Regions from separate parts of the Homo sapiens genome. Here all the other regions are linked to region 3. Evidence: promoter capture Hi-C in human tissues and cell types (Jung and others, 2019). All regions are on one chromosome and are shown on one strand. The core of a region is centred on a gene start or on the middle of the fragment in contact, and the rest is flanking DNA. Distances in the headings are between cores, read along the strand shown. Region 1 overlaps GRM2 (glutamate metabotropic receptor 2). Region 2 holds the start of IQCF3 (IQ motif containing F3). Region 3 holds the start of IQCF6 (IQ motif containing F6).

Region 1 (2,700 bases), core at 141-2,640, 63 kb before region 3:
ATTTCTCACTGGGGCCAGGGATGGCTGTAAATCCTGGCTAGAGCCTGGCTGGGAGATGTGAGGTTTACAGGGGATGAAGTGGGGGTGGAGAGAGGAAGTGATTTTCCAGCCACTGACCACATTCTGGTGAATGGCAGTGGTTGCAGGTGACCAGTGAGGTTGGGATTCAGTTTGCACCAGGATGACTGTTAGGACTAGGGGTGCTGGAGCTGGGGTTGTTGTTAGGATTAGTGGGGACAGGATTGGAGCTGAGACTGGGTTTAGCCTTAGCATTGAGTTTGGGGAGAGGGCTGTAGTGTATGTTTCGATGAAGTTGGGATTTGGAGCCTGGGTTGGAAAGTGTTGGATAGTACTAAAGTTGAATTTGGGGAGTCATGGTTGGGGATTGATGTGGGCATTAGGTTTTTGGAGATGTCTGGGCTTTAAGGCTGGGATTACATTTGGCATTTAGGGTTGGGGTTTGATGTTGGAGTTTAGGAGTAAGACTTTGTTGTCATCTCTCATTTAGAAAAATGATTGGGGTCAAGGCAGGATTTAGTATTGGGTTAAGGATTGGAAGGGCTAATGGTGGTCTTAGCTCTGGCATTTGGGTTCCATGTTAGGGTGAATGTTGAGGTCACATCAGGGTAACACACTAGTCCAACCTTCTCTTCCTTCCCTCCCCCATCCTAGCCCCCTTTCGCCCAGCTGACACCCACAATGAGGTCCGCTTTGACCGCTTTGGTGATGGTATTGGCCGCTACAACATCTTCACCTATCTGCGTGCAGGCAGTGGGCGCTATCGCTACCAGAAGGTGGGCTACTGGGCAGAAGGCTTGACTCTGGACACCAGCCTCATCCCATGGGCCTCACCCTCAGCCGGCCCCCTGCCCGCCTCTCGCTGCAGTGAGCCCTGCCTCCAGAATGAGGTGAAGAGTGTGCAGCCGGGCGAAGTCTGCTGCTGGCTCTGCATTCCGTGCCAGCCCTATGAGTACCGATTGGACGAATTCACTTGCGCTGATTGTGGCCTGGGCTACTGGCCCAATGCCAGCCTGACTGGCTGCTTCGAACTGCCCCAGGAGTACATCCGCTGGGGCGATGCCTGGGCTGTGGGACCTGTCACCATCGCCTGCCTCGGTGCCCTGGCCACCCTCTTTGTGCTGGGTGTCTTTGTGCGGCACAATGCCACACCAGTGGTCAAGGCCTCAGGTCGGGAGCTCTGCTACATCCTGCTGGGTGGTGTCTTCCTCTGCTACTGCATGACCTTCATCTTCATTGCCAAGCCATCCACGGCAGTGTGTACCTTACGGCGTCTTGGTTTGGGCACTGCCTTCTCTGTCTGCTACTCAGCCCTGCTCACCAAGACCAACCGCATTGCACGCATCTTCGGTGGGGCCCGGGAGGGTGCCCAGCGGCCACGCTTCATCAGTCCTGCCTCACAGGTGGCCATCTGCCTGGCACTTATCTCGGGCCAGCTGCTCATCGTGGTCGCCTGGCTGGTGGTGGAGGCACCGGGCACAGGCAAGGAGACAGCCCCCGAACGGCGGGAGGTGGTGACACTGCGCTGCAACCACCGCGATGCAAGTATGTTGGGCTCGCTGGCCTACAATGTGCTCCTCATCGCGCTCTGCACGCTTTATGCCTTCAAGACTCGCAAGTGCCCCGAAAACTTCAACGAGGCCAAGTTCATTGGCTTCACCATGTACACCACCTGCATCATCTGGCTGGCATTCCTGCCCATCTTCTATGTCACCTCCAGTGACTACCGGGTGAGCTACCTGCCACAGAGGTCGGGGGAGATGGGACACCAGACCCTCTGTTTCCTGGTATCTTATTTAATCTACTGGTAGCTCTGGGGTTCCAAGAGGATAATGCCCACTCAGGGGACCACAGCTTGTGTGGATCCCAAGGGGAAGGTGGGAGGGCTGAATAGGACCTAGGGAAATGGCCAGGGAGGTGGGGAACTCGAGTTAGAGAGAGCTGAGATTTCAGGACTTGAATGTCATCCCCTATCCTGGAAGGTGATGGGGGTGCAGAAATATGTTCAAATGGACAGGGTTCTGCCCTGCTCCACTGAGGGGTCATCTGCAGAAGGGGTTGAGAGATGAAGCCAGGGAAGGCAGGAAAGATGAAGCAAGGTGGGTAGGGGAGGAGATCCAGGGTATAGAGTTGAGAAAAGCTAAAGCAGGTGAAAATTGTTCCCCAGTTGGTGGCTTCTGAGCAAATTTGGTTCCAACTGGCACTGTGTCTCAATGGGTCTCCCCAGCTCCAAGGGGCAATGGCTGCTTCAGATAGGGTGGTCAGGGAAGCCCTCTCTGAGGAGGTGACAGATGAGCTATGTTCTGAGTAAGAAGATTATCTTGGTTAATCTTCATAACTTGAGTAAGCTCCATGGCTCTCCCGTTTTACAGATGAAGAAACAGAGACTCAGGGAGGTTCAATCCCTTGCCCAAGGTCACTCAGCTTGGGAGTGCAGAGCAGGGTCTGAACTGCAGAAAAATTGAGGCGAAAGCCCCGGCAAAGGCCCCTTCCCCAGGACAGAGGTGTGGTGGCACAGTGCTGGGGGCCAGGGACCGCTGGGCTTGGCTGCTCTGCTTGCACCTGCTGGGCCACCTGCTTGGGTGGTAGAGGCCAGGGCTGGGGAGGGATTCTGCTCTGACTCAGCCTGCATTTGCATATGATTTGCATTTGCATGCCAATCACAGGCAGCTAAGGACTCAC
Region 2 (2,811 bases), core at 72-2,571, 50 kb after region 3:
GACAGGAAATGCATACTGTCCTTTTTTATTAATTACAATTTTTATAATTAATTTATAATTATGTTTATAATTTTTATAAATGCTAGATTATAATTATTCATAATTTTTATAATTAATTTATCATTGTAAGTTTTTTTAAACAAGGTACATGAAGTTCTTTTTTGTTGGTGGTTTTTAGTTTTGGTTTTGGTTTTTAACTTTTATTTTAGGTTCAGGGGTATATGTGTAGGTTTGTTATATAGATAAACTCGTGTCATAGGGGTTTGTTGTACAGATTATTTCATCACCCAGGTACTAAACCTAGTACTCAATAGTTACTTTTCTGCTCCTCTCCCTCCTCCCACCCTCCACCCTCAAATGGTCCCCAGTGTCTGTTGTTTCCCTTTGTGTCCATAATAATTCTCATTATTCAGTTCCCGCTTCTAAGTGAGAATATGTGGTACTTGGTTTCCTGTTCCTATGTTGGTTTACTAAGCCACTATGAGTCCTGGACAGCCTGCAGAACTGTGAGACAATTAAACCTCTTTTCTTTATAAATTACCCAGTCTCAGGTATTTTTTTTTCTTTTTTTAAAGGTATTTCTTTATAGCAGTGCAAGAACCGACTAATATAATGTCTTTTATCACTCTGATTCCTTTGTTTGTGGGATGTGACCTATTTTTTTTTCTTTCTGGAAACTTTTAGGATCTTCTTTTTCCTTGATGTTCTGAAGCTACAAGATGACTTCCAATACCATGTTGAATAGGAGTGGTGAGAGAGGCCATCCTTGTCTTGTGCCAGTTTTCAAGCGGAATGCTTTCAGCTTTTGTCTGTTCAGTATGATGTTGGCTGTGGGTTTGTCATATATGGCTCTTATTATTTTGAGGTTATGTCCCTTCAGTACCTAGTTTATTGAGAGTTTTTAACATGAAGAGATGTTGAATTTCATCAAAAGCTTTTCCTGAATCTATTAAGATAATCATGTGGTTTTTGTCTGTAATTCTGTTTATGTGATTAATCACATTTTATTGATTTGCATATGTTGAACCAACCTTGCATTCCAGGGATGAAGCCTACTTGATCGTGGTGGATTAGCTTTTTGATGAACTGCTGGATTCAGTTTGCAAGTACTTTGTTAAGGATTTTTGCATAAATGTTTGTCAAGGATATTGACCTAAAGTTTTGTTGTTGCCAGGTTTTGGTATCAGGATGATGCTGGCCTCATAGAATGAGCTGGGGAGGGGCCTTTCCTCCTCAATTTTTTGGAATAGTTTCAGTAGGAATGGGACCAGCTCTTCTTTGTTCATCTGATAGAATTCAGCTGTGGATCCTTCTTGTCCTGCGCTTTATTTTGTTGGTAAGCTATTTACTACTAATTCAATTTCAGAGCTCATTATTAGTCTGTTCAGGGAATCAATTTCTTCCTGCTTCAGTCTCGGGAGGGTGTATGTGTCCAGGAATTTATCCATCTCTTCTAGGTTTTCTAGTTTGTGTGCATAGTCTCTGATGGTTATTTTTATTTCTGTGGGGTCCGTGGTAACATCCCCTTTGTCATTTCTAATTGTAAATGTCTTATAAAAACATTTACATTAAATGTTAAAACACCTTAATGTAAAAGGTAGACCAGAATCTAATAGAAAAATCTATGATCCTGGATGGAAAAGCACTTTATTAGAAAACTACAAAAGCAGAATTGTAAAGGGGCAATGGATTTGAGCATATCAAAAATTAAAGATAACTGTGGAAGGAAAGGCAACCATGAAAAAAGTTAACAGGCAGATGACAATCTGAGAAATGATATTTGCACAATTTTTCCTCAACAGAGAGTTGCCCAAGGAAGTCAACAGGAGAGCCAGGTATTTTCTCTTTATCCATCAACTTTGAGCCTGGAAAAGGCACTGTGGCCCCTGGTCATAGTTGCCTTTGTGACATCACGGCCATCTCTTTCTCCACCTTTCCTGCCCCTGCCAAGATCAGGAAACAGCAACCAGAGGGAGATGATCACCTGAACCACTGCTCCAAACCATGGGCAGTAAATGCTGTGTAAGACTCAGGCACACAAACTCCCCCAGGGGTGGGAGTTGTCCCATGGCCCAGGAAAGCACCAGGCCACTTCTTAGGACCCAGGCAAAGAATGGGGAACTGGGCCTGTGGGGACTTTGCAGTCAGGCTGGTCCTCACCCATGCTCCCCCACACCCATATTCCGATTGCAGAAAGGTGGTCCAGATGAAGATGCAGTAGAAAGACAGAGGCGGCAGAAGGTAGGTGGGGCCCAGGAGGGTGAGAGAATTGCAGATCATTGACTCTTTGATCCCAGAGTTCTTAGAATGGAGATCCATCTCTGGCTCAGCATTGCCCTCTTATCCCCTCAAGCCCTCCCTCTCCTTGGTGAACTGAGTAAGGTATGGAGATAGACAGTAAAAGGGGAGGAAGTTTCGTGCGCACAGCCACCTGATAGGTGGGGCTCAGCACAGGAAGTGGAAAGGCCCAGGAGAATGAGGAGGGACTGAGACATGGTAGTGGAAGTCCACAAAAGTGAGATGAGGGGAGACCCCAAAGGGCTGCAGCACCACGCAAGACATTAGGAGGCAGCATCATGGCTGGAGTTTGGACCAAGACACAGGCCATAAATGCAGAGGTTCATGGATTCTTATAAGAATCCTTCAGTTCCTCACACCCTGGTCTTCCAGTTGGGTCTTCTGGACCAGAAAGTGTCTCCGCTAGTCCCATAAACCCGAGAAGTCCACAGATCAAACATATCCCGATTTCATAGATGAGGGCACTGGGACTGTGAGGGTGTCCAGAGCCATGAACAGGACAGAAGTAGAGGA
Region 3 (2,786 bases), core at 223-2,722:
GGAGGAGGAGCACAGCTGCTTCTGAGGACATTATAGGATTTAGAGGCTGTGTGCCCAATGACCTCCAGTGGCAGAGGGACAACCCTTTCCCCTGCCTATCCCTAGTCCTCTGTTTGTTTACCTGCCCCCATGCCACCCCCACAACCATCCCCCCACAGCCCCCAAGTCTCTCTCCCCTCCCTGATCCCATGCCTGGTTCTCCAAGGAAGTGCCCAGCAGAGGGGAGGGAAGCCTTGTTGTTCAGCCCCAGGGTGGGCAGGCGGCAGGCACAGCTGCTGCCCTCAGCTCCTGCTCTGGCTTCCCCAGGGGCTGGCTCTGGCTGGCTGCTCCCTGACTCCCTTCCCCACCATAAGGCACAGCGTCTGTCCTGCTGTTGCCCAGCTGAAGTGCCATGTCCTCCTGGCTCCCTGCCAAGCACTCTGCCGGCCCTGAGGGCCTTGCCAAGCACAGGCCTGTGGAATCCTGGCCTTCCCAGCTGGCCCTGGCTGCAGCCAGATTCTCTGATCTTCTGATCTGAATGGAGATGCCTGGACAGGGGCTGCAGGAAACTAAAGCCCAATGCCTACTCCCACTGTGGAAGGGGCCAAAATCAGGCTGACTGAGGCATCATTGCTTGACCTGGGCCCTGGGGTCTCTCTTGGATGCAAGACTGTCCCGGTATGCTGTTAGGAACAGGGGCCTAGGTTGGTGACCTGAGGACAGGGGCTCTAGACCACACCAGGGAATCTTTCTGGGGGGAAGGCAGAAAACTTAGAGGCTGAACCCTCCTCCATGAGTCTAATCTCCAAAGGGCAAGTGTATGGTCAGTAAGGGTCTTTATTGGAAGAGAGATCCAGCCTCCTTGGCTCTGTCAGCGCCCTAGGTCATGAGGATTTCGATGTCAAGCTCCAGCCGGCTGGCTCTGACCTCATAGTGGCCCCGGATCAGGCCTCGGGTTTGGCTGGCATGCCAGCGCCAGTGAGACTGGATGATGCAGGCCGCTTGGCGTGCCTGGAGGAACCGCCTGCGGGCCTGCCACATTCGAACCTGTGCCTGCACCTTCACCACCGCCCACTCCTGGCAGGTATAGAGTCTTAGTGCCAGGCGCCGTCTTTGCTCCAACATCTTGGCCTGCATTGACCTCCACCAGCACTGGATGACCCAGGCTCTGAGTGCTGCCTGCAGTAACGTCCGGCGCACCATGTTTCCACGCCACCATGACTGAATCTTTATGGCTGTCTTCTCTAACTGATTGGGGGAAAGGAAAAACAGGGAGATGCTCAATGGGGGACCCTCCCCTCCTGTTCCTATCCCCATCTCTGATCTTGGGAGGAAAGAAGGCCTGGCCCAGGTGCCCCTGACTTCTTGTTTCTAGGGCCCATCCATCTTGTTTCCAATCCCCCACTCACATTTAGACACGGTTCATTACCTGTCAGGTAAGTCCCTACTGCAAGGGCCTTACTCACATTTTGCGTGTCCATGGCCTTGATCCTTAGGGTCCACTTATCTGTCACTTAGGCCACCCTTGTCTTTAGCCCCACCCTCAACTGTTAGTCACACCTCCATCATTGGACTCCGCCCACTTGCACACAAGACTCTACCTCATCAGGTCCCGTCTGCACGCATTTTAACCACATTTCTCTCTCCTCTTCTCTTGCTTTCATCTCTTTTGCTTTATTGATTCCCACCACTTTGGGAGCCTACCATTATCTCTTGCCTTCAGTTTATTTCTCAGCCCCAGTGGCATTCCTGATCCTCCTGATGGCAGTGAAGAGAGAGTCATGCAGCTTACCTACAAGGAAGGAGTTTTACTTTAAGCCTCTACTCATAGCCAATTTGGATTTCCTGAAGCTTAAGTGTCAGGGCGCCTGTCAGGGCCCGAGGAACGTGTTTACAGAGCTGTATATTTTTGGGTAAAATTTGTGAAAGCAAGATATTTCAGCTGCAATTGGAGAGGACCTCTGTCTCTCTTCCCTCTTACTCCCTCTGTCACTCACCTCCTGTTGAGTGGGGTGGAATGGCAACCTCTTTTGCCACGAGACTAAGGGAAGGCTGAGTTGGGATAGACTCAGTTTTTTTTTTTCTTTTTTTTTTTGAGACAGAGTCTCGCTCTGTCGCCCAGGCTGGAGTGTAGTGGCACAATCTCGGCTCACTGCAAGCTCCGCCTCCCAGGTTCAGGCCATTCTCCTGCCTCAGCCTCCTGAGTAGCTGGGACTACAGGTGCCCGCCACCACGCCCGGCTAATTTTTTGTCTTTTTAGTAGAGACGGGGTTTCACTGTGTTAGCCAGGATGGTCTCGATCTCCTGACCTCGTGATCCGCCCTCCTCTGCCTCCCAAAGTGCTGGGATTACAGGCGTGAGCCACCGCGCCCGGCCTAGACTCAGTTTAACAGCATAGATTTGTGTGGTTCACAGTCACCCTTGGGAACACATAAATCCTTGCTAGCCATTCTGCTGTTGCTGTGTTCATTCACCTTGCTCATGGCGTGAAGATGCAGGAACAGAAGGGCTGCTATCCAATAAGAACGTGTCTTCCAGTGCTGGCACCAAAAGTATTTGGGCAGGGGAGGAAAAGTAAATGTGAAAAGTATGGAACCAGAAGCCAGTCTGTAGAAAATTCTTCCTGTTATTAGATGTGTAAAACTATAAGTGGAAGATTCAAGTCTCATTGATGCCTGATTAAAATTGAAGCTCTCTCTTTTCAGGAATATACTTGACAATGCAATGATACAATTTTAAACATTTCCATACTTTTTTCTTTTCTTGGTGGGAATTTTGTGAAATAGAATTTATCTGAATTCCTGTGA

What was found. The method cuts DNA at HindIII sites, captures the fragments that hold promoters and counts their contacts. A contact is called where the count stands out against the background at its distance.
Region 1: a contact is called between a fragment that was not itself captured here and the fragment with the promoter of IQCF6 in region 3, in 2 of the 25 tissues and cell types used here (mesendoderm cells and thymus).
Region 2: a contact is called between a fragment that was not itself captured here and the fragment with the promoter of IQCF6 in region 3, in 2 of the 25 tissues and cell types used here (heart right ventricle and thymus).

The regions. Positions count from the first base shown.
Region 1 is chr3:51,714,390-51,717,089 of GRCh38, forward strand. GRM2 (glutamate metabotropic receptor 2) reads left to right here. Exons shown (of 6, transcript NM_000839.5): 4 at 673-1,748. Among named protein-coding and RNA genes, the nearest start is that of GRM2, 8.7 kb to the left of the region's middle. RefSeq lists an enhancer at 2,061-2,700. The HindIII fragment of the contact is 7,924 bases long and covers 1-2,700 here.
Region 2 is chr3:51,827,472-51,830,282 of GRCh38, forward strand. IQCF3 (IQ motif containing F3) reads left to right here and starts at 1,955. Exons shown (of 3, transcript NM_001393887.1): 1 at 1,955-2,022; 2 at 2,194-2,241. The coding sequence starts at 2,005. The HindIII fragment of the contact is 8,072 bases long and covers 1-2,811 here.
Region 3 is chr3:51,777,765-51,780,550 of GRCh38, forward strand. IQCF6 (IQ motif containing F6) reads right to left here and starts at 1,473. Exons shown (of 2, transcript NM_001368369.1): 1 at 1,389-1,473; 2 at 799-1,227. The coding sequence starts at 1,460. The coding sequence ends at 859. All of the region lies in intron 2 of LOC105377087 (a long non-coding RNA gene), which reads left to right. The HindIII fragment of the contact is 12,191 bases long and covers 1-2,786 here.